4 separate regions of the Homo sapiens genome follow, and all the other regions are linked to region 1. Evidence: promoter capture Hi-C in 16 types of primary human blood cells and fetal thymus (Javierre and others, 2016). All regions are on one chromosome and are shown on one strand. The core of a region is centred on a gene start or on the middle of the fragment in contact, and the rest is flanking DNA. Distances in the headings are between cores, read along the strand shown.

Region 1 (7,400 bases), core at 3,220-5,719:
TGGAAGGTGCTGCACTGCCACCCACCTCAGGGCCTTTGCACGCACTGATAGTGACTGGGCACTCCCTTGCGTCCTTGCTTTTCTAAATGCCTCCTCCTCATCTTTAAGAGCAGCCGTACCGTCACCTCTTCATGGAGGCCCCTATGAGGCTCGGGGCCAGAATAGCCTCCCAGACAAGTGCTCTTTTGGCCCCTGAACTACCGCTTCCAACTCTTAGCCCACTTTGCAGTTAGATATTCATTTGTTTGTTTACTTGCTCATTGCAAGTTTCCCCGCTACTCTGTAAACTCTGTGTCTCTGTTTGTCCATCACTGCCTCCCAGGGCCTGACCTTGGCCTGTGTGCAATTAAGGTCAAAAGAAATATTTGTATACATATGTACAACTATTATGTGTCCATAAATTTTTTTTTAGAAATTTAAAAATACATTGGCTGGGTGCAGTGGCTCATGCCTGTAAATCCCAGCTACCTGGGAGGCTGAGGTGGGAGGATCGCCTGAGCCCAGGAGGTCGAGGCCACAGTGACCTGTGATTGTGCCACTGCACTGCAGCCTGGGTGGCAGAGTGAGACATTGTCTCAAAAAAAAAAAAAGTTTAAAATATATTGACATAAAAAAAGAAATATTTATAGAAGGAATGAAATTTAGAGTACCAGAGAATTGGAGTCTTAGGGCTGGCAGGCTTGTGCCAAGCATCTAGTCTAACCCCACATTTAGCCACAGCCCAGGGAAAGGCAGTGATTTGCTCCGTTGCCCACAGTCTTTGCCTGAGCTGGGGCTGGGACTTGGGGCTCCTTTTTTGCCTCTGATCAGTGACTGACATTGTCATTGTTCTGTCCTCAGATTGTGGGTAGGGATGCTCAGTTTAAGGACAGCCTGTGTGTGTGTGTGTGTGTGTGTGTGTGTGTGTGTGTGTGTGTGTGTGTGTGTGTGTAGCGTGTGATGTGTGGTGTGTTGACATGGTGGGAAAGCCCTTCAACAGGACAGAGGGAGGTAGGAGCCCTATTTTCGGGAACGGGCCCCTTGGGAGGGGGGTGGTCCCATTTCGAGATTTGCTGACACGGGGGCCAGTGCAGAAAAAAAGGGCTCTGACCTCCCAACATGCTAACTGATTCTGGGCAGGTTGCTCCAGCATGAACTGCAGTTTCTGTGTCCACCAAGTGGGCTTCCTGCATTCATTCATTTCCCCACAAGCACATAAAGGGCCTGCTGTATTTGAGGCACAGTGCTGGGGGAGCAAAACCCAGTGATTTGTGGGTGGATGATTCCAGACCCATAGGGAGACAGTAATAGTAATATTCAACTTGGGGTGGCAGGCAGAATAATGCCCCTCCCCACGAAGATGCCCACAGCCTAATCCCTGGAACTTGGAAATATGTTACCTTTTTTTTTTTTTTAAGATTTGAGGTCGTGCTCTGTCACCCAGGCTGGAGTGCAGTGTCATGATCATAGCTCACTGTAGCCTTGAACTGCTGGTCTCAAGCAATACTCCCACTTCAGCCTCCCAAGTAGCTGGGACCATAGGGATGTGCCACACCCAGCTAATTAAAAAAAATTTTTAGAGACAGGGTCTCACTAGATTGCCCAGGCTGGTCTTGAACTCCTAGCCTCAAGTGATCCTCCCACTCAGCCTCCTGAGTAGCTAGGGTTACAGGTGTGAGCCACTGCACCCAGCTGAGTGTGTCACACCTTATTTGGCAAAAGGGATTTGCCGATATGGTTAATTAAGGCTCTCAGGGAGATTATCCTGGATCCTCAGGGTGGGGCCAACGTCAACACTAGGGGCCTTCAACGTGGGAAAGGGAACCGGAAGAGAGATGGTGGTATGAAAAGGACCCTGCCTGCTACCACTGGCCGGGAGGGTGGAGGAAGAAGCCTAAGAGCCAAGGAATGCCAGCAGCTTCTAGAATCTTGAAAAGGTAAAGAAAGAGATTCGCCCCCAAGACTCCAGAATGAACGCAAGCCCTGTTGACACTTTGATTTTTAGCTTCACGAGGCCCGTTTGGGACTCTTGACCAAAAGAACTGCAAGAGCATGAATGTGAGTGGCTTCTGGCCTCTAATCTGTGGTCATTTGTTACAGCAGCAACAGGGAACTATACCCTTGGCCTTGGCCTGTGCTTTTGACATTGCTGAGCACGTGCATGCTCCCTAGCTCCTCTGCCTTCCCCTGCCAGCTTCCGAGTAGTAGGGAGTCTCCATCTCCATTTTACAGAGGAGGAAACAGAGGCTCCATGTGGGGCAGGACATGGTGGAGGCAGGATTTGAAGTGGGTCTGTCTGCCTCTCGCTAGATGAATGAATGAATGAATGAATGAATGAATGAATGTAAGGGGCTGCTAATCCACGGGACTCCTCAGGTCAGCCAGATGTCCTGGTTCCAGGGCCTGCCACTAACTCACCTCAGATCCCTGCTTGAACCATTAGAACTCACCTGCCTCACTTTCCCCCTCTGTGAAATGGGGCTCCAACGCCTATTCAAGCTACTATCATTGGGGGCATTGTGAGGCCACAGATCCCAGAACAAACCCTCCAAACCCTCATTGACTCCCTACTGCCTCCTAGGTGACCTTCCAATACTTTAGCCCAGCTCCTGCCAATGTCTCCAACACTTACTACCCCTCCTTCAGGGGGATGCTCTGCCCAGGAGGGAGAAGCAAAGAACGAGGGGAAGGGGACTCCGAGAGCTTCCCTCAGGCTGGGCCTCTGGGGCCACCTGTGCAGGGAGCAGGCTCTATTTGGGTTGGTTGTGTCCCTGCTCCTCGACATCCCAAGGTCCCCAGACTGCAGCCCTCAGAATGTTGGGTAAGGTCTTCTTCCCCTGCTGGTGGGCCCTGGGGGAGGTTTGGCTGCCCCTGACCACCCGATGTCTGGTCTAAGACAGGTCAGGTAGGCCTGGAACACCCCTGGCCACCTTAAAGCGGGCACAGCTGCTACAACATGTCTGTGGGTGGCCACTTGCCCCTGGGACATGTGTGTGCATGAATGTGTCTGTGCGAGTATTGGTGGATGGTCCCCTGTTCCCTCGAAGATGCAGGGTTTGGGGTGATTTCCAGAGAAGATGGGAAAGTCTCTGATTTTATTTCCCAAGCAAATGACTGTCCCAGTTTTCTGGGGGTGAGCGAGGGCTGCTGGGACCATTGCAGGGAACAATGATAATCTAGGCTTGGTTCCTACCCAGAGAGCACGCACTCATCCTTCATGCACTCCCCTGTTCCAAACCCTCACTGGCTCCGTACTGCCTCCGACCTTCCGAGACTTTAGCCTGGCTCCTGTCAACATCTCTGACCCTTACTACATGATCCTCTCTTTGGTCCATGCTCCAGCCTAATCTAATTGCGGTGGCTTGTGCGTGGTGGCATTCCCAGCCACCATACCTTTACCCACGCTGGTCCTTCCATGCGGAATGCCTTTCCAGGGCCTGCTTTGCCCGCTTCTGCTCATACACAGGCATGCCCTCCAGGATGGCTTCCTACCTCTTTCCCTTGGGGGATTGATCTCTCTGTCTTGGGGTTCTCGGAGCCCTTGACCTGACCCCTTTCTGTTTGGCAAAAAAGTAATTTACCTCGGTGTCCTTCTCCCTGGTAGTCTGTGAGCTCCCCAAGGCTGGGCTGTGCCTGATTCACCTCTGGAACTTGCTTAGCACAGTGCGTGGCCTGCTGCAGGTGTTCATTGAGCACTTGCCGAATGAATGCATGAATGAATGAATGAATGAATGAATGCAAGGGGCTGCTAATCCACAGGACTCCTCAGGTCAGCCAGACGTCCCGGTTCCAAGGCCTGCCACTGACTCACCTCAGGACCCTGCTTGAACCATTAGAACTCACCCTGCCTCACTTTCCCCCTCTGTGAAATGGGGCTCCAACTCCTATTCAAGCTACTATCATTTGGGGGCATTGTGAGGCCACAGATCCCAGAACATCAGAGTCAGAGGTAGCCCAGAAAGCTTCCCACCCATCCCTACAAATGGGAAACTGAGGTCTGGAGAGGGAAGGGCAGAGTTGGGCTCCCTGTCTCAGGCTCGGACCCACCATCAGGCCTGTCTCTAAAACGAATCCCAGCTCCCACGCTGCACCCTGAGCCTGGAAGCCTGAGCCACACAAGGACGGGGAATTTTCCTTCCCACTTCCAGAGGCCTCTGAACCTCCCTGAGCTTGTCCCCTTTGGAGGGTATTGGGCAGCAGCGTGGGCAGAACCCCAGCTCACTGTCTGGGGGAGCGCTGCAGGACAGCCTTGTCTGTCTGTCTCAGCCTGCCCTGGGGACCCGAGGTCAGGGAGGAAGTGCCGCATCTGGTCTTCCCCAGAGCGAGAGTGTGAGCAAGGGTGGGATTGCGTGTGGCCCGAGAGTAGCCCCTCCCCTCCCCCTGTCCCCACCCCAAACCCTCTTAATGAAATCAAGCTGGCCCTGCGGCCCAGCCGGGGAGGGAGGAAGGAGGAGGGACGGGAGGAGGGACGGGAGGAGGGAGGGCGGGCAGGCGCCAGCCCAGAGCAGCCCCGGGCACCAGCACGGACTCTCTCTTCCAGCCCAGGTGCCCCCCACTCTCGCTCCATTCGGCGGGAGCACCCAGTCCTGTACGCCAAGGAACTGGTGAGTCCTGGGGTCCCCTCCTCTGTCCTGAGAGCCTGGAGCTATCTTGGAGCTTAGGGACTGGGGACTGTTGGAGCACTCTGGGGGGCCTCTCTAAGTGTGTGTGGGCTTTGAGTGTGTGTTTGGTGTTGTGTGCATGAGTGTGGTGGAATCTGAGTCCCGTGTGCGGTGCTGGGGTGGGCCAGGGTGGGCCGGAGTGTTGTGTGTGTGCGGCTGGGGCCTTGGTGTAGGGGGTGTGTTGCTTCCACTTTTCTGCAAGTGGATGCCAGGCTGTTGCTTCCAGGATCTGTGTGAGGGTGATGTGGACGGTATTGTCCTGTGTGCAGGGATCGGCTGTGTGTCAGGGGGTTGTGTATGTATATGTGTTGTGTGTCCGTGTGTGTTCTCTGTGTATTGTGTGCATGGGCCATGAGAGTGCTGTTGGGTGTCTCAGTGCTGTGTGAGTCGGTGTGCCTGTGTTGTGTGTCTTTATATTGTGTGTCCATGCTGCTCTGTGTGTGTGTGTGTGTGTGGAGGGGGATTGTGCCCCCAGGACCCCCCTCCCCATCCAGACCTCCAGGGCCCAGGTCCCTGTCCTTGGCTGGCCCTGGGGTCGGGGGCATGTGCAGTGCTCCAACCAGAACACCCCTCCCCCACAAGGCCACTGATTGAAGCCAGGTTTCCGTGGGCCGCCCCTCCCCCAAAGGCCACCAGTCTCTGGGTGGGGGTGGGGCAGCCCCCGGTCCCCTAGCTTCAAGTCTTGGGGCCCCCAGGCCTCAGGGGTGCATCTGCACTCCTCCACAGACTCAGGACCATCTTAGGGCATTTGCCACACTTACACACGGCCAGCCCTGCCTGACATGTCCCCAGGCAGGGAGTCCTGGGCAATCACGTGGTACCTGCTAATTGGCACCCACTGTGCACCAGGCATGGCCGCATCTTGTCCTAACAGCAGTCCAGGGAGGTGGCTCTTATCCCCATTGTACAGATATGGAAACCGAGGCTCAGAGAGGTGACATGCCCAGCCCAAGGACACATAGCCGGGAAGTGACCTCCTCTGGGATATACCAAGACAGGCTTCTCTGTCCAGGGCTCTGCTGGGCTCACCCCTGACTTTCTGTGTGACCTGGGCAGGCTGTTTCCAGTCTCTGGACCTGAGTTACCTCTAAGGTGAAGCAAGAGGCGTTGGGCCTGACCCCAGCTCCTAATGGCCTGTTAGATTCTGAGTCCTTGAAAAAATTAGGGTCCGGGGGGAGGTAGGCAGAATAATGACTTCAGAGCTGCCCAGAACAGTGCTTCATTCCACAGATGGGAAACTGAGGCCCAGAGAGGGCAGGGGCCGTCCAGGGCCACACAACCATCTTTTTTGAGGCTCTGCTGACTGCAGGTGGGGCTGGGTCCTCCATACGTTGCCCCCACCTTTCCCTGGAAGCCAGGAGGGGTTGTGGGGTGCAGGGGACTCTGAGAGTCAGGGTCTCAGCCTTAAAGAGCCAGTGGCAGTTTGTGTGTTCTCCTTTCTTGCCCTCTGCCTCTGACTTCGTGTGTGTGTGTGTGTGTGTGTTGTATGTATATGTGTGTGTAGGTGTATGTGTGCATGTGTGTGTATGTGTATGTGTGTGCATGTGTGTGTTTGGTTCTGCATTCCTTGGCGGCCAGAGCTAAAGAGGTTTCACTGAACGGGGTGAAAAGGTTGGTCTTTCACTGGGTGGCGGCCGGACCAGACAGTGAGCGCATGTTCCCATCCGGCGATGGTGCTCATTTGTCGACTCAGGGTGGGAAATTGCTGGCTGAACCTGGAGTTCGGCTAGGGAAGGAATTCAGCTACCCCAGACCCTATCTTTCCTCGGGGCTCAGCTACTTCGCACCAGGCACTCTCTGAAAGTTGTCTCATTTGGCCCTAACAGCTCTGAGAGGTGCTACCTGTGGTCACCCTGTCCCAACTTACGGATGGGGAAAGTGAGGCCCACAGGAGCCAGACCACAGAGCTGGATGCGATGGAGCCGGGATTCTTGACCCAGCCAGAACTTGAGTGGGTCTCCAGCCACCCATGGTCCCAGCTGCCCTCTGCAGTGAGAAGTGGTAGTTGTTGCCACAAAAGCTCTCTCCTAGGCTTGACTGGGGGTGGGAGGCAGGGAGGTGACTGGCAGGTCACAGACCCCAAAGCTCAAGGTTGTCTGTAGGAACCTTTGCTAACAGGTGCCAGAGAGGTGAGGGGGTCCTTTCCTCATTTAGCATCTGACAGGTGATGTCCACCAGCGGGAACAAGCCATTCCTGGCTCAGAGTGTGTGGTGTGTGCATGTGTGTGTGGTTGTGTAGGTGAGTGTGTGTGGTGTATGTGTATGGTTGTGTGTATGTGGAGTGTATGCATATATGTGTGGTGTGTGCATGTGTGTATGATTGTGTGTAGTATGTGAATGTGTGTATAGGGGTGTGTGTGGGGCATGTGTGTACGTGGTTGTGTGTGGGGTGTATATGGGTATGTGTGGCGTGTGTGCATGTTTGTGTGTGGGGTGTGTGTGCATGTGTGTAGATGATTGTGTGTGTAGTATGTGCATGTGTGTATATGGGTGTGTGAGTGTGTGTGTGGTATGTGTGTGCATGGTTGTGTGTGGTGTGTGTGCATGTGTGTATGATTGTGTAGTCTGTGCATGTGTGTATATGGGTGTGTGTGTGTGTGGCGTGTGTGCATGATTATGTGTGGGGTGTGTATGGGGATGTGTGTGTGAGTGTGTGGCGTGTATGAATGGTTGTGTGTGTGGTGAGTGTGCATGTGTATGTATGGCTGTGTATGAGTGTGAGTGTGGTTTGTGTGAATGTGCGTGTAAACTCCTGGGATC
Region 2 (7,400 bases), core at 2,763-5,262, 360 kb before region 1:
GTGCCTTCTTTTCTCCCGCTGATGCCAATTAAGTCTTCTGTTTGATTCAAGACTCCTTGGATTCCAAGGAAGAAAGTCCCTATTAAGTTAGCTTAAGCCAAAAGAAAGGGATTAAATGTCTGTATGGCCAGTACCGATGTTACAGTCATGGATTTAGGAGTGCAAAAATGTTGCTTTATTATTATCATCACTTCCTAGACTTTAGTAAATCCTGTGCCACCTATTATCTTATGTACTTAATATCTTTCTTCTTTCTTTCTTTTTTTTGATTTAATTTTTGTAGACCAAGGGTCTCGCTATGTTGCCCAGATTGGTCTCAAACTCCCAGCCTCAAGTGATCCTTTTGCCTCGAGCTCTCAAAGTGCTGGGATTACAGGCATGAGCCACCTTGCCCGGACCTGAATAACTTTCTTTATATCAAATTGCTTTTTAAAAATCGATCACTTGTAACATGGGGCTAATAAAAAAATTGTAATATATTTTTGGAAAGTGAAACTATACAGTCTTAATTGGAAGATCAATAACAATTGCCTTAAGTAGGAAGTGACTGCAAAAATAAATGCAACACAAACAAAGCAATGTTATTAAATTCTTAGTGGTTGTGGTTGTCCCAGTGCCTTCTGTGTTAAATAGAGAGGAGAGTAGCTATTTTTTAAAATGTGTTGGCTGGGTGTGGTGGCTCATGCCTGTAATCCTAGCACTTTAGGAGGCTGAGGTGGGTGGATTGTTTGAGTCCAGGAGTTCGAGACCAGCCTGGGCAACATGGCGAAACCCTGGTCAACATGGCAAAACACTTACTCTACCAAAAGTACAAAAATTAGCTGGCCATGGTGGTGCAAACCTGTAATACCAGCTACTCAGAGGCTGAGGCAGGAGAATCGCTTGAACCCAGGAGGCGGAGGTTGCAGTGAGCTGAGATCGTGCCACTGCACTCCAGCCTGGGTGACTGAGCGAGACTCTATTTCAAAAAAAAAATAAATAAATACAAATAGATAAATAGGTGTTAAAGACAGACTGGCACCTCACGGACTCTTTGACATAATCATAAAAATGAAGACTGAAATGAAAAAAATAACTTTCTTGTGAGGTGATGCAAAATTATTTAAAATATTCTCTCTGCCACATAAAGTCATTTTCTAAAAGACTCGAAATCATTTGGTAGGCTTCCAAATTTCCTCACTCATCTCCTTTAATTCAGTTTAATATCTTAAAGCAAAAAATCAGTATGTTTCATACTTGCCCCCTGAAGTGTTCCCTGGGGGACAGGAAGGTGAACTCACCCTTGGAGCTCTGGGAAGGGTATTGCAGAAAGAGGCCTGACCAGACCTCACAGAGCAGGTTGAAAATGCACGTGAAATTTGCATTTTACCCTCTCATATTTGGCATTGATTGTGATATAAAAATAGTATTTGTTTACTCTTAATTTTTTTTCCAATCTCTAAGGGTAATTAACACTCCAGGAATATGTGCCATGTTTGTCTTTTTTGTTTTGTTTTGTTTTGTTTTGAGATAGAGTCTCACTCTGTCCCTCAGGCTGGAGTGCAGTGGCAAGTTCTTGGCTCACTGCAACCTCCACCTCCCAGGTTCAAGCAATTCTCCTGCCTCAGACTCCCAAGTAGCTGGGACTACAGGCACCCGCCACTCCACCTGGCTAATTTTTGCATTTTCAGTAGAGACAGGGCTTCACCATGTTGGCCAGGCTAGTCTTGAGCTCCTGGCCTCAAGTGATCCCCGGCCTCAGCCTCCCAAAATGCTGGGATTACAGATGTGAGCCACCGTGCTCGGCCCCATGTTTGTCTTGAAGCATTGTGTCCCTCTGTGGTTCTTGACCCTATTGAACACATGCCCTCTTTACTTTAAAAATGTGGAAAATGTGCCTCTGTAATCCCAGCTACTCAGGAGACTGAGGTAGGAGGATCCCTTGAACTCAGGAGTTCAAGATCAGCGTGGGCAACATAGCAACACTCCATTTCTTTAAAAAAGTGAACACTGAATAACGCCTTCTTAACTATCCAGAAAAAATTTCCAAAGATAAAATAACCTAGTCATTCACGTACTTTAAAAAAGAAATCAGCCAGGCGTGTTGGCTCACACCTGTAATCTCAGCACTTTGGGAGGCTGAGGTGGGTGGATCACTTGATCCCAGGAGTTTGAGAATAGCCTGGGCAACATGGTGAAACCCCATGTCTATAAAATATACAAAAATTAGCCAGGCATGGTGGCACACATCTGTGCTTCCAGTTACATGGGAGACTGAGGTGGGATGATCACTTGAGCCCGGGAGGTTGAGGCTGCAGTGAGCCGAGATTGCACCACTGCACTCTAGCCCGGGCAACAGAATGAGACCCTGTCTCAAAATAAATAAATAAGAAAGAAATAAGTTACTTGTTTCATTTGCAAATTAGGAGGATGTAAGAGTATGTCATTCATTAAAATAACTTCAAAATGAGTTTGCCCGCACAGGAAACTGCCTTTATATTATGTTTTATTCTTCATAGTAAAAATATCACTCAGTACAGTTATACTTTGATATAGTTTTATCCTGGTACAATAGATGTTAGAATAATGATGCCAAAATAAACTTGTTAATGAGAAAAAGAAAGAAATCAGTTCTAAAGTGCTAACTAGGAGGGAGAAATTTAAAACGTCATTAATAAAATAAAATTTATTTTTAATATGCAAATGTTTACCTACAACTCTGTCTAGATGACAAGAGGAAGGGGTCAATATCTGCCCCTGATTGTAAATACGTTTGGACTTAACTGAATATTGTTGATGGTTTTTCTTTACATTTGACCTTTTAAAATAAGGTTTAGATCAGTGTATTCATAGATAAACCCTGAGTGAAAGCTGACACTGAAGCTTCCCATCAGTGACTCAAATGCTGCACACAGCGTTGTCATTGACAGCATGGTTTTCTGAAAAGAACAATTTTGTAAAGTTCCAGGTAAAACAAAGTAAATTTTCTTTTGACTTACCTGAAAGTTGCGTTCCTGAAAAATTAAGTGTATATTCACACTATGCCAAAAAAAAAAAAAAAAAAGTCTTGAATGTGTGAAACAGAGCAAAAAGTCTAGGTGCAGATCATCAGAAACAGAGTTTCAGCTGCATGATGGTCGGGCAGAACATTTGAGATGGTATGAGATGCAGGACAATCTATTTTGTCTCCTGTATTGTGGAATATCTGACATATCTGGCCCAGATTGGCATTCAATGCCAATCATTGGGACAACCAAGAATGCCCCATGATTTTCTCACCCAACCCCTGTGGGTTGGCACTCCCCATACAGAGGAACCCAGTACCCCCTTGGTTGTGTAGGCTCCCTTTAATGTGACCCCATTATCGGCGGCTCTCAGTGAGGTGCAAACGCTACCTGGAGGTGCTGAAAAGCCCTTGTGATTCCGTGTCTTCCTTCTCTTCAGGGGCTGAAGATCAGCGTGCTGTGGACTCTGTACTATGGCATCCTTAGTGCATTTGCGCCCGTGTATAGCTGGATCCTGGTGCTCCGGGGCCTGGTGGGCTTCGGGATCGGAGGAGTTCCCCAGTCGTAAGTAAATACCCAGTGCTGGCTATGCAGCCAGGCTGCCCATCCACGTGTCTGTTCATGGTCTGGATCAGGAGTTAGGGGCTGAGATGGGGCAGCAGGGGTGCAGAGATAGCTATACCAGGGCTTCCAGGATCAAGGAGCTATGGTGTAGCAAGAAAATAGCATCATTATCAGTATTGTTATGATCAACAACAGCAGCAAAACAACACAATGGCTGGAAGGTTGTAAAAGCGAAATGATAATGCATCTAGCATTGATTGACTGTTCCACTTGGACGCATTGCAGCAGCCCAAGAGGTGTGTGTTATTGTATTATTGCAATCTGCGTTTTACAGTTGGGGAAACTGAGCCTCAGAGAGTGAAATCATCTGTCTGAATCACATGGTGGGTAACTACAATATCCATGCTTTTAGCTACCATGAATGCTGCTTCCCACGCTCTTCCTACCTAAACGCAAGGCAGAGTATGATGCTAACCACATGTCACTCAGGCAGCAATTTGCTGTTGCTGTTGTAGTTTAAGGTACTGAGAATATTCAGAGCTGTAGGAAGAAGCCACTGTCTCCTGGGGCATCGAGGAGGACTTCCTATTTGTGATGGGCCCTGAAGCAGAGATTGGCACACTATGGCATACGGGCAGAATTCGACCTGCTGACTGGTTTTGTAAATAAAGTTTTATTGGAACACACCGCACCCTCCATTTATGTATTATCTATGGTCGTTTTCATGCCACAGCAACAGAACTGAGTAGTTTCAGCAGATATATGGCCTGCAAAGCCTGAACTATTCACTATGTGGCCCATTATAGAAAATGCGTGTTGGACTCCACCCTAAAAAATGATAATAGCCAATATTTAGTGTTAACTATGTGGCAGGTGCTGTTCTAAACGGTTTACCCAGATGATCTCCTTTAATCTCTCATTTTCCCTAGAAGGTAAATTCTATTATTAACCCCATTTTACAGATAAAGAAACTGAGGCACAGAGAGGTAAAGTAACTTGCTCTAGGCAACACAGCCAGGAAGTGGTGGAGGAGCTGGAATAGGAACTGGACCTTCTAACCCCAGTGCCTGGGCTCTATACCCATTGCATTTTACTGCCTTGCTATTAAGAAGGCAAAGGATTTGGAAAGACCCAGAAGGAGACTTGGAGAAGATCTAGGACATTTTCTAGGAAGTGAACCACATGAAAAGAGGAAGCCGTAGCTGAGGCTGAGGAAGGCTAATTGTCTGGTTGGTCAGCTTGGAGGGATGAGATCTGTAAGAGAAAGCTGGCCAGGCGCGGTGGCTCATGCCTGTAATCTCAGCACTTTGGGAGGCCAAGACGGATAGATCACTTGAGCTCAGGAGTTTGAGACCAGCCTGACCAACATGGTGAAACCCCATCTCTACTAAAAATACAAAAATTTTCCGGGCTTGGTGGCGGGCACCTGTAGTCCCAGATACTTGGGAGGCTAAGGCAGGAGAATCGCTTGAACCTGGGAGGCAGAGGTTGCAGTGAGCCAAGATCGTACTGCTGCACTCCAGCCTGAATGACAGAGTGAGACTCTGACTCAAAAAAAAAAAAAAAAAAAAGAATTAAAAGCTGAGGTTGGACAGGTAGGCCAGGGCAAGCTTGTTAAAGGCCTAAAATGCCAGGCCAAAGGGATTCTATTGGTGATGAGGAGCCACTGAGAGTTCTTGAGCAGCGGAGGTACCTAGAAGTATGGATCTGGCTATGGCAGGTAGAACAGCTTGGAGGTAAGGAATCATTAGGAAAATTTTGCAAGAGGACCAGGGCGATCCCTTGTAGTGTATTCATTTATTCCACCAATATTTCTTGAGTACCTAGAAATGCTAGGTGCCAGGACGCAGCATTGAGCAAGAGCACCATGGTCCCTGTTCTAGGATGGGATCCTGGGGAATAGACTTTGAGATGGAGATTACTGTGCAGGTGGTTACTAGGATTAACACCTGTAAGAAAGTGAGAAAATTAGGACCAGCGAAGGGGGAAGCTGAGTTGCCATACCATTGCCACAGAGGCCTCTGGTCAGCTTACAGGGTTTCAGAAGCAGAGGTGGCCCTTCAGAGGTGTTTCAGATTGGGGCGGGGGGGCTAGGCCTTTTTACCCTCACACCAACCAGGCATCGGATGTGGGCTGCCCTCAAGGATGGAGCATGATCTTAGGCAAGGCAGCTACTTTTGGCCAAGGCAACTTCTGCAAGGGACTCAGCTCCTGGCAGGCAATGCTCCTGCTCATTTTGGAGGGAATAAAAGCCTCAGTCCTGAAGGGCAGACCAAGTAGCACATCACAGCATCCTCCACAGTCCAGGGTGGACCCACTTGCTTCAAATATAGTCATGCGTCACTTAATGATGGGGATGTGTTCCAAAAATGCATCAATAGGTGATTTTGTCACCGTGCAAACATCATAAACTGTCCTCACACAAAGCTAGATGGGACAACCTCCTACACAGCTAGGCTATACGGTATAGCCTATTGCTCCAGGGCTACACACCCGTACAGCATGTAGCTGTGCTAAATACTGCAGACAATTCGAACACAATGGTATTTGCATCTCTAAACACATTTAGACATAGAAAACCTACAGTAGAAACACAGTATTAAATTAAAAAAAAAAAAAGGCCAGGCATGGTACCTTACACCTGTAATCTCAGCACTTTGGGAGGCTGAGGCAGGAGGATCCCTTGAGCCCAGGAGTCTGAGATCAGCCTGGGCAACATAGCTAGACCCCCTCGCTATTAAAGAATAATGAAAATAGGCCAACTCTGGGTGCACTGCCTATGAGTTAGCCCTGCTCTGCACGAAGCAGTACTCTTCAATAAAAGATTGCAAAATAAATAAGTTAATTAATTACCACAGTATTATAATCTTATGGGACCACCATCATATATGTGGTCTGTTGTTGACTCAAATGTGTTATGCAGCCCATAATTGTAATCAGCTCACCCCGCCTAAGAACAGTTCCTCCAGGATTCTGGATAATCTCTTTTCTGCAAAAGTCTCACGGCTGCAATGGATGCCAATGGAGCTCACAGTTGAGTTCCTTGCAGAAGTTGCCTTGGCCAAAAGGCCAAATGTCTCCCACCTCTGCTTCCCATTCTAAATTCCTCTCAGCTTCAGCGAGCACTCTCGCTGATCTAGACGGTTTACCTGGGTGGGTGACTGAGATCTCATGCCTAAGGGATTCGAGTCCCTGGTCGCCATGCCTCTTTTAGGCCATAGCTGCTGCGCTTGTCCATTTAACACCAAAATTGAGCAGGAGATTACCAAGAGATGTCTGGTATATCACCTGGGTGGCCCTATGATAGATGGGGCTTATTAAGTCTTAATGGTGGTTAGGATCAATTTCTCTGACATGGGACCCAAGGAGCCCACGGTGACTCTTTTTCTTGCCTGTTCATTTCTTGACACAAAGGAGCCCAAAGTTACTGGGTAGCAGCTGTTGCTTAAAGTCTAATGGGTCCGGGCACGGTGGCTCACGTCTGTAATCCCAGCACTTTGGGAGGCCAAGGCAGGTGGATCATGTGAGGACAGGAGTTCGAGACCATCCTGGCCGACACAGTGAAATCCCGTCTCTACTAAAATTACAAAAATTAGCTGGGTGTGGTGACACACACCTGTAATCCCAGCTACTTGGGAGGCTGAGGCAGGAGAATCCCTTGAACCCAGGAGGCGGAGTTTGCAGTGAGCTGAGAGCGCGCCACTGCTATCCAGCCTCGGCGACAGAGCAAGACTCCATCTCAAAAAAGACATTCTACTGAGACTCTTGCTGTGTCTCCTGTGGAAGCTTTCCCTCCCTGGGAGCCAGGACCTCTAGACCCACCGAGCCCAGAAGTTGCAGGATGTGAAGTAC
Region 3 (7,400 bases), core at 2,040-4,539, 340 kb before region 1:
TAACCAAAGCTGCCACATTGCTCAGCTCCAGCAGGTGCCATGCAAATATTATACAGTGTATAATGGTACCCTTGTGAGCTGGGCAACATGGCAGCCCTGGCCCAACCATATAGACCACAGGGAAAGTGTGGCTATTCTAACCTTACTGACTCCGATGACCCCTTACCCACAGAGATACCCTTGTCCACAATGCCCCCATAATTCCTCTCTGTATGGACCATGCTACCCCCACCACTGACCCTGATTCTCCTGTGCCAGGTATTCTGGGCCATCGGGACAGTGTTCGAGGTCGTCCTGGCTGTGTTCGTGATGCCCAGCCTGGGCTGGCGTTGGCTGCTCATCCTCTCAGCTGTCCCGCTCCTCCTCTTTGCCGTGCTGTGTTTCGTAGGTATCCTTTAAGAGATTTCACCTTTTGCTGTCTGACATCTTACTGTCCACTCTATTTTGGTGGGGAGGGGATAGGGAAGGATACCAAAGCCACCTTTCAAGATTATTTTTTTTAAATCAGGAAATGAGACAAGGGAGCTATGGCCTGGGGTAGCCCCAGTATGGAGTGTTAGATTTCCTCCAGACAGACACTTCTGGGATGTTTTCTGGGGAGATAACTGGGGATGGGAGGATACATTGGCCCCATCATTGCAAAATCTACACTTAAAGTGATTGTATTGCACTAGTTGAGACTCTTAAGTTTCAAATGACAGAAACCCAATTCAAACTGGCTTGAGTAAAAGAGAGGGATAAATACATTTCAGAGGATTAAGTCAGACTTCAGGCATGGCTGGCTCCAGGAGTTTAAATGATCTCTTCATCTCATCTGTGCATAAACCACACCCTCTACTGAGATCTTGCCACATACTCATCATTTCATGGGCACATGCTTGAAACACTTTACAGCCAGTAGGCACTAAAATAAGCCTAGAGATGGGTAGTTCTCATGTACGGTAAATACCACAAAAATTCCTGGTAATGATAATAAGTATTAATAATTATTAAGCTTAACTGTGTGGCAGGCTCTGTGCTCCATGCATTATCATATTTATTCCTCCCAATAATCACAGGACTATAATGAACCCCTATATTAGTCAGGGTGATACCAGCTGCTGAAACAAATAAAGCCCACAAGTTCAGTAACAGCACGATAGGAGCTTCTCTCTCACTAACACAATAGTTCAGAATGACTTTTCTGGTTGGCAAGTGGAATTCTGGGCCCAGTTTTTGTCCAGCTGGTGGCTCTGCCATCCTCTAGGGCTTTGAAGTCTTCTACATACAGACAACAGACTTGCAAAAGGCAAGTGGAGACTGCACAGTCACTTCTTAAATACCTTGGCCAGGAATAGTCTGCTCATATGCCATTGGTGAACACAAGTCACTTGGTCCCACCTAGATGCAAAGGGAGCTGGGAAATGTAGTCCCTGTCTGGGCAGCCACATCTAAGGACAACTTTGCGCTATGAAAAAGGAAACAGAATGTTGGTGGGCATTTGCACTCTCTGCTATATCCTCTTTTTATTGATGAGAAAACTGAAGCCCAGAGGGGCTAATTGACTTGTTAAAGGGCCTACAGCAAGTAGACAAAAGAACTCTAAATCAGATCTTCTAACTCCTAGTCTTTTCTCCAGTATACCTGCTGTTTCAAACAGCTGTTGCTCCATTTTTACAGAAATGTATGTATGTAGTCATTTGGGGTTGGGACTTCCATTGGCCTAAAAATCTTTCTGATTTCTTTCTTTCTCTTGAACTGAGTTTGCAAGATGATGCTGAATACAGGTGAGGTGTAATTCCTTGAACAATGGGGGTGAGATTTCTGACAGTGATCTTAATTTAATTCAGCCCTCACCTGGAACTCTGAAAACAGCCCCAAATAATAGTAATAGCAACCGTGACAATAATAATAACTGCATTAACCCATACCAGGCACTGCACTAGGCACCTTGCCTGTATTATCCTGTTTAATCCTCTTAAGAGCCCTAAGAGGTAGGATCTCTTATCATTCACATTTTATGGAGAAGGAAATGAAAGCACAGAGAAGTCAAGTAATTGTACAGGGTCACACAACCAACATAATAAATGGTGGGGCCAGGATTTGAAGTCAGCTCTCTGGCTCCAGAGCCCCCACTCTTAAAGACCCCACATGCAACACTGTGTGGCTAGAAGCGAGTGCTCTGTTCCACCCTAACCAGCCACGCCTGGGTTTCCTGTCTCCCCCATCCCAGTGGCTGCCTGAAAGTGCAAGGTATGATGTGCTGTCAGGGAACCAGGAAAAGGCAATCGCCACCTTAAAGAGGATAGCAACTGAAAACGGAGCTCCCATGCCGCTGGGGAAACTCATCATCTCCAGACAGGTCAGTGCCTGGACCAATAGACTCTGCAATGTGCGTATCGGGGTGCATGCAGGGGAGTGTGTGCATATGGAGTAGGGCATGCATGCGAGGACACATGTGGGTATGTGTACCCAAGGTGGGGTGTGTGCGTGCACATGGAGCAGATGAGGGCCCAGTAGACAGGACCTGCAAGGGTAATTTGGCAACTCCAATCTGTATTTTCACTTCCAAGTTCTAAAAATGCTTCCTGGAGAATTTCACCAGTGATTAGAGAAAAGTAACCTCTGCTAATGGGTCCTGTAACTGCTCCTGCTTTGGTTTCGCCTTTCAGCACAGATGAAGTCTGACTAGCGAATGAGACTGATTGGCAAAAGCTGTGCAATAAAACCATATCAGGAAGGAGTGTGCTTAGATCTAGGGGATCAAACCGCACCCTGTGTAGGTGTTCTTAATGAATGGTGCCTCACTCCGCTGGTAACACCATCAGGGAGTCCACCACGGTGAAACTTAATGAGCACCTAGTATATGTAGGCACCAGCATTGCACACATGGGGAGAAAAGATTCGGATTTAAGGCTGCAGTCCCTGCCCTCAAGAACCATCCAAGCCGATTGAAGAAACATGACAAATACCTTAAGCAGACATCAGATCCTATAAAGAAATTACCTTTTAAAATAAAGTTATATTTCTGATTCTTTTTATATTATGCAAGAAGAACTGAATGGCATTTCACCAAGTTGGAAGGAGGTGTTTGGTCTGACAACATAGAGTCCAGGGGACCTGCCCCAAATCTACAGGGGCAGAGCAGGATGGATTCCTCAAGAGGTGCAGAAGCCTATTTGGTTGCCTTTGGGGAGAGATCCCTTCCATGGATGAGGGAAAGCCAGGCTGGTCTCGAACTCCTGGCTTCAAGTGATCAACCTGCCCCGGCCTCCCAAAGTGCTGGGATTACAGGCACGAACCACCACACCTGGCCATAGCATATATTTTTTAAAGAACATCGTAAAGCAAAGTTTGATAAATTTGTGAATTATGTAAAATTGGCCAATCGGTCATTTAGCTAATCAATCTTTTGGTAAATTGGCCTTTGGTGAATTAGTTTCTCAGCACATTAACTGTTGCCACCTAGACCTAGAACTGGGGAAGGCACATGTGTGTGTGTGAAATGGCTGGACATGCTTTGGACTGGTTTTCTGCTTGCTGTGTCCTTGGATCTGTGCTGAGGTCTGAGGGGCCAGGAAGGAGGGATCTGCTTCCCAAGTCCAGGTTTCCAGGTTGGAGGGCGTGAGATCCATCCTGTGGGGATCATGCCCCTGGACATGGCTGGGTTCTGGCTGGAGGGGCTGGGAGGCTGCGTCCTGTAGATTTGAGACCTGGGTTCTCAGAGCTCCAGTGTCCTACTTACTAGAAACCTTCCTCCCAGCCTGGTGTGCACTAGTCTCAGGCCACCAGCCCATCTCCCGTGCATCTGTAGGGGAGAGAATAAACACTATGTCCTTGTTTTGAAACAGGAAGACCGAGGCAAAATGAGGGACCTTTTCACACCCCATTTTAGATGGACAACTTTGCTGCTGTGGTTTATATGGTAAGAGCTGTTTGTTGACCACTTTGACCCCTTTCCACTCCCTGTGCCCTGTTTTGGGTTTTGTTTTAATGCAATGGACAGATAGCACTTTGATTTCAGGCAGCGTTTGCAAATTTCAGTAGTTCGAACATCATCCTCCTGATTTCCGTCATATCCAGGTTATCATCTGTACGTACTATCATTTCCTTCATCTTTTTCTTTAACTTGACTGCTTTTAATCACCGTGCAGGCTGGAGTGCAGTGGCGCTCTCCTAGCTTACTGCAGCCTTGAACTCCTGAACTCAAGCAATCCTCCCTCCTCAGCCTCCCCAAATTCTGGGATTACAGTTGTAAGCCGCTGAACCAGGCTTATAACTCTACTTTAAAAGAAAACACCTTAATTGCAAGTCACAGATAGAAGGCACTCTTAAAGAGAAATATCAGCAAAAGTAACTAGACGGAGGTTTGCAGAGGCAGTGAGCCTCTGTATTTAAGAGATAAGAAGGCTGGCTGGGCATGGTGGCTCATGCCCATAATCCCAACACTTTGGTAAGGTCAAGGTGGGAATATCTCTCGAGGCCAGCAGTTTGAGACCAGGCTGGGCAACACGGTAAAACCCTGTCTCTACAAAAAATGTTTAAATTAGCTGGGTGTGGAGGCATGCACCTGTGGTCCCAGCTACTCAGGAGGCTGAGGTGGGAGGATCACTTGAGCCCAGGAGGTTGAGGCTGCAATGAGCTGTGATCATGCCACTGTACTCCAGCCTGGGCAACAGAGTGAGACCCTGTCTCAAAACAAAAAGAGATGGGAGAGGGGAGGTGTTAAGGACTCATTAGCACATAAGTGAGACTGGGATATAATTTAAAAGGATTGAAAGGATTGAAAGTAAACTTAAAAAGTAATTTTTCTTTCACAATACGATTAAATATTTCTGCTATATGGGCTGGTGTGGTGTCTCATGCCTGTAATCCCAGCACTGTGGGAGGCTGAGGCAGGTGGATCACCTGAGGTCAGGAGTTCGAGATCAGCCTGGCCAACATGGCATAATCCTATCTCTACTAAAATACAAAAATTAGCCAGGCATGGTGGTGGGCACCTGTAGTCCCAGCTACTTGGGAGGCTGGGGGATGAGAACCACTTGAACCCGGGAGACAGAAGCTGCAGTGAGCCGACATTGCTCCCCTGCACTCCAGCCTGGGCAACAGAGTGAGACTCTGTCTCAAAAATACATGTGTGTGTGTGTGTGTGTGTGTGTGTGTGTATTTATACTATGTCAGTGTCTTCCCTGTAGCCCACATTGCCCCTTGGGTACCACAGGGGTGGCATGTGGCACGTATTTTGGGAACCACTGATTTGGTCAACATGGGCATCCTTTTAAGTTCCAGTTCTGATCCTGTTGGACTTTTTCTTAAATAATACCCATGGAAGGGAGTGGAGACAGAAGGTGTGGGTTGGGGGTGGTATTTGGAGAGTGTAATCACCTTAAACTCCACAATGAATTGGAGCTGCAGTCATCTTTCAAGTCTCTTTGCACCAATTCATGTACACAGCATTAATAGTGAACAAAATTGGCCTGGCTTAAGGCTTTATGTTCTATTTTAACCAGTTCTCATTTTTCTATTCACCATTTAGCAAAGGTGCTAATTAACAGGGAAGTGTCCCCAAGGTGGTCAATTACAGGGAAGAGGAGAAAAAAGCTTTGATAATATACAGAACGGACTCTAGCTCTGCCCCGAATTCCTAAGAGCTCAATTAACTCAGTGAGCCTGCAGAATTTTTTAAAAGGATGGTGGGGCATCAGAGTTGAGAATACCCACCTTTGAGCACATGTAATTTGGTTGGGCCAACGCTCCTTGAATACTGAAGCAATTAATTAGAGACTAATTTTAGTGCATTATGAAAGCCACTACATTTGCTTGCACACATTGAAACCTAAGGAAATGAATCACTGGCTTCTGATTATGACTGAGTTTTCATATAACTATTCTACTGGATGAGAAGGTTCCGGTCTTGCAAACTTGAGTATTCTAATTTCTGGGTCAGCCAGGAATTAATAAACGGTGTCATTCTGCTCTGAAATTCGAAAATCACATGTCCAAGTTGACGCAATTGACCCAGAGCCCTAAAAGATATTAATGGGGCTGTTTTCTTCCAGAGGTTGGTCCCATTTTTCCCCTATTGCCAGTTGGGTAGACAGCCTTGGAGGTGTTGTGTCTCTTGTATAGCATAGTTCTGTTACCAGAAAGGTGTCCTGATTCAGACCCCAAGAGAGGGTTTTTGGATTTCATGCAAGAAATAATTCAAGACCAGTCTATAGAGTAATGTGAAAGCAACTTTATTAAGAAAGTAAAGGAATAAAAGAATGGCTGCTCCATAGGCAGAGCAGCCCCAAGGGCTCCTGGTTGCCCATTTTTATGGTTATTTCTTGGTGATGTGCTAAACAAGAGGTGGATTATTCATGCCTTCCCTTTTTAGACCATATAGGGTAACTTCCTGAAGTTGCCATGGCATTTGTAAACTGTAACGGCACTGGTGGGAGTGTAGCAGTGAGGATGACCAGAGGTCACTCTCATCGCCATCTTGGTTTTGGTGGATTCATAGCTGGCTTCTTTACTGCAACCTGCTTTATCAGCAAGGTCTTTATGATCTGTATCTTGGCCGACCTCCTATCTTATCCTGTGACTTAAAATGCGTAACCATCTGGGAATGCAGCCCAGTAGGTCTCAGCCTTCATTTACCCAACCCCTATTCAAGATGGAGGTGCTCTGGTTCAAACACCTCTGACAGTTCTTGGTCTTTCAAAGGACACAGGATCACTTCCCTTTGATCATATCGTGATGCTTTTTTACCTACCATCTTCTTGCTCAAGGTCCCCAGTAAAGCCCCCAAAATCCCAGTGAAGCCCAAAGACTGGTCCCTGCTGCTGTAGACATTGGCCCTTCCCAAGGGGGTAGGGAAAGGGGACTGGTGTTCCTCTGATCATTTCTTTACCTTTCTTGCTTTCTCCTGGCAGGTTTTCCAATGCATTCTCTTACTACGGGTTAGTTCTACTCACCACAGAACTCTTCCAGGCAGGAGATGTCTGCGGCAGTGAGTATCTTGGTTGTCTTTGCCAGCTAACTACTCCCACACCCTCGGCACATACACAGTCATGCACACACTCCCACCCCAGGCTCTGCCCTTAAGGGATTGGCCTTGTACTACTTCTGTGGTTTCCAAGACACTCTGTAGAAACCTGGACAGTCTTGTCGCGATGGAGCTAATCTTAGAGGAGCCACATCTTATGTCAGGGTTTGGGCTCTGAAGTTCGCACTGTTAAAACATAAACCAAGGCACATTAAAGAAAAACAGAGGTAATTTTGAAGAGTTTATCTGAGCGGACAGCGATTTATGAATCAGTAGAAAAGAGCTGAAGAAAACAGAAACAGGGAACAAAAAGCAGGTGGGTTGTTTCAAAGTGACTTTCCTTATTGGATTAAAACAGAGCAGATTTTCTTGTCAGCCAGCTCAGGTAAAC
Region 4 (7,400 bases), core at 1,336-3,835, 290 kb before region 1:
AGACAACAGAGCATAGTGTCAGAGACCCCAGCCTCATCACTTGCTACTTGAATTCTCTGAGACTCAGTTTCCTTGTCTGTATCATGGAGTTAATAATCACTCTTGGCCGGGTGCAGTGGTTCACGCCTGTAATCCCAGCACTTTGGGAGGCCAAGGCAGGCAGATCACTTGAGGTCAGGAGTTCGAGACCAGCCCGGCCGTCATAGTGAAACCCCATCTCTTAAAAATACAAAAATTAGCCAGGCGTGGTAGTGCGCACCTGTAATCCCAATTACTCAGGAGGCTGAGACAGGAGAATGGCTTGAACCCAGGAAGCAGAGGTTGCAGTGAGCCGAGATCATGCCAATGCACTCCAGCCTGGGCAATACAGTGAGACCCTGTCTCAAAAAAAAAAAAATACTCTTGGTCCCATGAAAGGTAACAGATAATGTGGATAAAGCCCTTAGCACAGTGCCAAAGGTTGAATGAACCTTGAGAGCTGGCACGGGGCTCTGGGCACAGCGCCAGACCACCCTCTCCAAGGAGCCTGAGCAAACCGTCCCAGGGCTGTGCTGTTCCTGTTAGCACACTGGACACCATGGAGTCACAGATGGCCTGGGTTCAAATCCCAGCTCTGCCACTGGCGAGCTCTGTGGCCTTGGGCAAGTTACTCCATTTCTTGGAGCCTCCGTTTTCTCATTTATTAAGTGAGGATAAGGACAGCCCTTACCTCCCGGTTATAAAGAGAATTAAATTAGTCGCTAGCTGTAAATTAGTTAGGACTGGACCTGGCACATAATAAATGCTTTGGCAGTTTTTGCTTTGATGAGTATTTTATTCCTTCTTGATAAAAAGCCTTGGGACCTTCAGGGGCACTTGAAACCTTTTGGCTTCAGCACCAAGTGCCCGTCACTGCAGAACATGTTTGTATTTTAGCCATGCTAATCAAAGGCTAGTTTCCCCTGGGCATCAGAAGATTCTTTGTCCTCTGCCAATTTAACAGCAAAATGTAAAACAAAAATAATTTTCAAAGCAAAAATAGAATTTAAACCAAACCTGTTTTGAACCCAGGAGTCTGTTGCCTACGAGACTCAAAGCACCCCGCCCTCATCTGTGATTAAGGCTCTGCTGCACCCACCCTCACTACCCCAGCCCTGGGTGCTCATCCCTCATGGTCAAGAACTGTTCACCCACCGGAATGGCTTCATGGAAGAGGTTGTAGCCCGAGATTAGGAACAGGCCCAGGTTTTCAGCGTTGGGAGAATGGACATGGCTCAGGAGATAGTCAAAGGTCTGTTGGCTCCAGTCCCTGGAAGGGTCATGAAGAGTTCGATCACCCAATGCCCTGAGCTGGGCAAAAAACCTTAGGTCAGCTGGCATGGGGCTGTGGCATGATCAGGAGCTTGGGGTGTGTCCAAAACCCAGAAATCCACCACGTTCACTCCTGCAACTCCCCAAATGCCTTGGGTCTTCTCCCTCCTAAATTTTCCAATATTTCCCCATTAATAGAATAAAGAAGAGAGGGAATGAAGGATGCCCCATCATAACCATATGGAGTGCACCTCCAGCATGGGATTACATGGCTGATGAGTTTCAGTGAAGTCCTTGACCTGGCTTTGGGGATTATGAGCCACACTGTTCAGTCTGGCTGCAAGCACCCCTCCTTGTAAACACTGGTGGCAGACATCGACTTGCCGCTCCTACAACTTTTCCTCCTCCCCCTGGGCACACAGCTCACCTACATTTCCTAGACCCTCTCGCAGCTAAATGTGACTGTGTGACTTGTTTCTGGCCAAGGGACTCTAAAGACTCTGCACGTGTGGTCCTGCATGATCCTTCTGCAGTCACCAGCCCATGTGAATGGTGACATTGAGGTGACCTCAAAAGCACGTGGAAAAACGGCAGAGCCATTAGATGGAAGGAGCCTGGGCCCCGAATCACTGCCCACTGATCAGAATCATTGGTTTTTTACAGCTGTGTGAATTAAAATTCTGGCTGGTTGCAGTGGCTCATGCCTATAATCCCAGCTCTTCAGGAGGCTGAGGCAGGAGGGTCACTTGAGGTCAGGAGTTTGAGACAAGCCTGGGTAACATAGGAAGACCCTGGCTCTACAAAAAATAAAGAAAATTATCCAGGCATGATAGCATGCATGTGTGTCCTCGCTACTTGGGAGGCTGAGGTGGGAGGATCACTTGAGCCCAGGAGGTCAAGGCTGCAATGAGCTATGATCATGTCACTGCACTTCAGCCTGGGTGACAGGATGCCTCTTAAAAATTTTTTTTTAATCTGTTTGAGCTGCTATTCATTGGGTGTTCCATTTGCTGAACCATCTGGCAGTTTCTAAACTACCATAATGACCTTTGCAATTTATTTGATAAATCTGTGCATCCATCCACCCACTTAGATGTTCACCCACTTAGAAGTTTTCTAGATTCAGCTGGGTGCAAGGGCTCACACCTGTAATCCCAGCACTTTGGGAGGCCAAGGAGGGCAGATCACTTGAGCCCAGGAGTTCAAGACCAGCCCGGGTAACATAGTGAGACCCTATCTCTATTTAAAAAGATAAAATTTGGCAAGGCATGATGGCTCATGCCTGTAATTCCAGCACTTTGGGAGGCCAAGGAGGGCAGATCACTTGAGCCCAGGAGTTCAAGACCAGCCCGGGCAACATAGTGAGACCCTATCTCTATTTAAAAAGATAAAATTTGGCAAGGCATGATGGCTCATGCCTGTAATCCCAGCACTTTGGGAGGTCAAGGTGGGCAGATCACTTGAGGTCAGGAGTTCGAGACCAGTCTGGCCAACATGAAACTCCATCTCTACTAAAAATACAAAAATTAGCCAGGCGTGGTGGCAGATGCCTGTAATCCCAGTTACTTGGGAAGCTGAGGCAGGAGAATCGCTTGAACCTGGGAGGCAGAGGATGCAGTGAGCCAGGATCACGCCATTGCACTCCAGTCTGGGCGACAAGAGTGAAACACAATCTCAAAAAATAAATAAAAATGTATAAATTAAAACAGAGGAAGTTTTCCAGATTCACCAATCATGTGGTATTGACAGGCACCCAGTTTAGGGAAGACGAGACAAAGCCTCCTAGTATCTGGCACAGAGCAAGGGGCTTAATATTTATGAATCTTTTCTTTATTTTTTTCTTTTTGAAACAGAGTCTCACTCTGTCACGAGTGCAGTGGCGGAATCTCAGCTCACTGCCACCTTCACCTCCTAGGCTCAAATGGTTTTCCTGCCTCAGCCTCCCGAGTAGCTGGGATTACAGGTGTGCGCCACCATGCCCGGCTAATTTTTTGTATTTTTGGTAGAGATGGGGTTTCACCACGTTGCCCAGGCTGATCTGGAACTCCTGGCCTCAAGTGATCCTCCCACCTCGACCTCCCAAAGTGCTAGGATTAAAGGCGTGAACCACCACGCCTGGCATTTTCTTTATTTTATGCTAGATCAGAGCTTCCACAAGGGGCTTGCTCTTGGTGATGGGAACCCTGACTCCCTCTGCAGACTTAGGTCCATGGGCACCCCAGGCTACCCTATGTGACCCTCACTCACGCCTCCTGTGGGTTGTTGGGGTCAGAAAGGTAGGGCTGCCAGAGGCCGGCAGCCACGTCGGTGGTGGTGAGTGGGGTGAAGCGGTCCGCGTAGACCTTTATGTCCAGTGGCTGCAGGACTGAGTGGTAGCGCTCATGGATGCAGAGGGCGGTGGACAGCCCGATGACTCCTGCTCCAATCACCACCACACGCATTGCAGCAGCCTGTGGGAAGGAAGGGTTGAGGCACAACATCATCACCATCATCTCCATCATCCTTAGCGCCATTGCCACCATCCACTGAAGGCTTAGAAGGTGCCAGACACCACCAAGCCCTTTTTATATTTGACCTTCCCGATGACCCCTAGGAGGAAGGAATATCATTGTTCCCGTTTTGCAAATGGAAACACTGAGGTATGGAGAAGTGACCGAGACTTGGCCACAGTCACACGGCTGGTGAATGATGCAACTTTCTCTGGGGAGCGTCCCCAGACACCCAGTTTCTGGGCTGGGAATAGAAAAGACCCAGCAGAGGGCACGACCAACTGTAGGCTGGGTAGGCCGGTGGTTAGTGCGATGGGCTCTGGCTTCAGGACTCAGCTCTGCCACCTACTGGCCGTTAACTTTGGGCAAGATGCTTCAACCTCTAATAACCTATGCTTGAGGGGATGGATGGGAAATTGAACAAGATGCCAAACGTAACAAATTTAACAAGCTGCCTGATGCAAAAGAAGTAATATACTGACATTTGTGGAGCACCTACTGTGAGCCAGCTGGCCCCGGCACTAAGTGCTTCACAAGCATCCATTCATCCAAGTCTCCCAACACTGTCATGAGGTAGGGGCTGCTGTTATCAGTCCCGTCTTACAGAGGAGGAAACTGTGGTTCAGAGAGGTGATGTGACTTACCTGAAGTCACACAGCCAGTTAAATGGTACAGCTGTGACTTAATTTCAATTTGAGTAAACTCAACACACGCTTAATGCACACCTACCATGTGCCAGGCTGGCAGCTAGCAAATGCAGCTATGAGCATGACAGACGCAGTGTCTGGCCTCAGAACTTGGTCTTCCAGCACAGAACTCCACCTGCCTTGGGGCACAGGGCTGATTGGGCCCTGAGAAGTTTAGAAGGCCTACCAGCTTTTAACCTTGAAGCTACTTAAGCCCGCACAGCAGGGAAATATTCTGCAGGCTCCTGCTGAGGCAGAACAAGAGAATTATTTGTGCCCAGAAGAGCCAAATTCAACTTTCCCTCATCTTCACTCACAACTCTCCTCCCGCAGACCTCAGCTCCTGGCAACTCGGGCCTGTGGCCCTGGACAGCGGGACATTCTTAATATGGCCTAGTTTTATAAAGGAGGGAAAACGGCTCCAGCCCACAAGAACTGGACTCTGTTGGGGTTTCAGAAGCCAAGTTGGAGATAGAACCAACAAACAGAAAGGTATCGTTCCTCTAGGCAATTCTCCTTCCAGCTTCGAGCCCGAGCTTGGATACTGGGGCTTAGGGGACAGCCCCTCTCAGGGACCCTTGGTCTTCTCTCTTCCCTCTTCCCCCATACTTTGCCTCTGGAGACACAAGCTCTTCATCTGCAAAACAGGGTTAATCCCAATCTCACAGGGTCATTTTAAGGATTAAATAAGAAGTTTAGCAAAAGTTCTTGGTACCACGCCTGGCACAGAGTAGGCCCTCAACACACAGCAGCCTCCTTCCTGTCTCCTAGCATTTTGAAAAATCACATAGAACAAAGACATTGCAGGAACAAAAGGAGAGAGGGAGGACCAGCTGCAGTGGCTTACGCCTGTAATCCCAATACCTCGGGAGGCCGAGGCGGGTGGATCACGAGGTCAGGACTTCAAGACCAGTCTGGCCAAGATGGTGAAACCCCATCTCTACTGAAAACTACAAAAATTAGCCAGGCGCGGTGGCAGGCGCCTGTAATCCCAGCTACTCGGGAGGCTGAGGCAGGAGAATCGCTTGAACCTGGGCAGCAGAGGTTGCAGCGAGTCGAGTTCGCACCACTGCATTCCAGTCTGGGCAACAGAGCGAAATTCTGCCTCAAAAAAAAAAAGAGGAGAAGAGAAAGGCAGAGTCAGACCTGGCTTCACTTCTGCCTTGCTGTGCGACCTTGGCTAAGTTAATTCCCCTCTCTGGGCTTTTTGACTGTCTGCATAATTTCCGGAGAGCTGACCACTCTTTTTCTTTTTTTTAAGAGACAAGGTCTCACTCTGTCACCCAGGCTGGAGTGCAGTGGCACAATCATAGCTCACTGCCACCTCCAATTCCTAGGCTCAAGCAATCCTCCCCCCTCAGCCTCCCAAAGCGCTGGGCTTTCAGGTGTGTGCCACTGCACCCGCCCGCTTGACCATTTTTATATGTTAACAATGAGAAGGCAGAGGAATAAAGGGCTTTCTGTATTTTTCCTAATTCTCCATGAAGAATCTAAGAGACAGTATGGCCCAGGCTGAGAGTCAGACAGACCCAGGTTCGCAGCCTGACTTGGGCACACACCAGCCATGTAACCCTGGGCAAGTTGCTCAACTTGACTGAGTGAGGGTGACCAACCTCCCCAGCTTGCCCAGGGCTGAGGGTCCTCCCAGGATGCAGACTTTCAGACTAAAAGTCAGTGCATCAGAGTCCCAGGCAAACCAGGATGAGTTGGTTAATCCTAATCGAACCTCAGTTTCCTCATCTATAAACTTTATTTTTTCGAGACAGAGTTTCACTCTTGTCGCCCAGGCTGGAGTGCAATGGTACAATCTTGGCTCACTGCAGACTCTGCCTCCCGGGTTCAGGTGATTCTCCTGCCTCAGCCTCCTGAGTAGCTGGGATTACAGGCATGCACCAACATGCCTGGCTAATTTTTGTATTTTTAGTAGAGACAAGGTTTCACCATGTTGGCCAGGCTGGTCTCAAACTTCTGACCTCAGGTGATTTGCTGGCCTCAGACTCTCAAAGTGCTAGGATTACAGGCGTGAGCCACCATGCCCGACCTCATCTATAAACTTTTATGAGAGCTGACAAAGCTCCTTGCCTTATTGTCTCCTCACTGGAATATCAGCTCCTGGACACCCAGGTGGTGAGAGGCAGAGCCCAGGCCAGCCTGACTCATAAGCCTAGGTGCTTAAATGCCATGCTTGCCAGTAAATCACATGGTTTGAAAAATCTGAGAATCAAGCCGGTAAATAGGAACAGCTGAAGCTTCAGAGTCCTGCATTTCAAACATAAAATATAATATAAAATAAGATAAAATAAAATAAAATAAAATGCCTGTAGGAATTTTTAGAGTGTTGGTAGGAATAGAATGGAAAATCAAAAAGGCCGGGCACAGTGGCTCACGTCTTTAATTCCAGCACTTTGGGAGGTCGAGGCTGGCAGATCACTTGAGGTCGGGAGTTCAAGACCAGCCTGGCCAATATGGTGAAACCCTGTCTCTACAAAAATACAAAAAAATTAGCTTGGCATGGTGGTGCACGCCTGAAATTCCAGCTACTCGGGAGGCCGAGGCAGGAGAATCCCTTGAACCTGGGAGGTGGAGATTGCAGTGGGCAGAAATCATGCCATTGCACTCCAGCCCAGGTGACAAGAGTGAAACTCTGTCAAAAAAAAAAAAAAAAAAAAAATTTAAAAGGAAAAAAGTGTGAGTCCTAAGTCAATTATCTTTTTTTAAAAAAATTCAAGATATGAGTCAAAGTTGACACTGATTATAGCAACGTGTGTGTGTGTGTGTGTGTGTGTGTGTGTGTGTGTTTTAAAATACAAAATAAATGCATGAGGTCCTCATGACAAGCCAGAGACAGATTGTCAGATGTGGCAGATCCAGCCTTAGGTAAAATCATTCATGCGTGTAGGTAATGAGCTTTTGGACTTAAACGCACCCAGCTCAG

Evidence for each region. The method cuts DNA at HindIII sites, captures the fragments that hold promoters and counts their contacts. A CHiCAGO score of 5 or more calls a contact.
Region 2: a fragment that was not itself captured here is called in contact with the fragment with the promoter of TMEM119 in region 1 in 1 of 17 cell types (erythroblasts); the score reaches 5.1 in erythroblasts.
Region 3: a contact is called between a fragment that was not itself captured here and the fragment with the promoter of TMEM119 in region 1, in 1 of 17 cell types (neutrophils). The highest score is 6.9, in neutrophils.
Region 4: a fragment that was not itself captured here is called in contact with the fragment with the promoter of TMEM119 in region 1 in 1 of 17 cell types (neutrophils); the score reaches 5.7 in neutrophils.

Annotation. Positions count from the first base shown.
Region 1 is chr12:108,595,153-108,602,552 of GRCh38, reverse strand. TMEM119 (transmembrane protein 119) reads left to right here and starts at 4,469. Exons shown (of 2, transcript NM_181724.3): 1 at 4,469-4,583. The HindIII fragment of the contact is 3,678 bases long and covers 3,944-7,400 here.
Region 2 is chr12:108,957,071-108,964,470 of GRCh38, reverse strand. It overlaps SVOP (SV2 related protein), which reads left to right. Exons shown (of 16, transcript NM_018711.5): 6 at 3,424-3,548. Among named protein-coding and RNA genes, the nearest start is that of SVOP, 60 kb to the left of the region's middle. The HindIII fragment of the contact is 2,296 bases long and covers 2,865-5,160 here.
Region 3 is chr12:108,933,768-108,941,167 of GRCh38, reverse strand. It overlaps SVOP (SV2 related protein), which reads left to right. Exons shown (of 16, transcript NM_018711.5): 8 at 259-384; 9 at 2,213-2,341; 10 at 3,831-3,904; 11 at 6,897-6,973. Among named protein-coding and RNA genes, the nearest start is that of DAO, 57 kb to the right of the region's middle. The HindIII fragment of the contact is 4,586 bases long and covers 997-5,582 here.
Region 4 is chr12:108,881,338-108,888,737 of GRCh38, reverse strand. DAO (D-amino acid oxidase) reads right to left here. Exons shown (of 11, transcript NM_001917.5): 2 at 3,538-3,740; 3 at 1,174-1,288. The coding sequence starts at 3,731. Among named protein-coding and RNA genes, the nearest start is that of DAO, 4.9 kb to the right of the region's middle. The HindIII fragment of the contact is 8,263 bases long and covers 1-6,716 here.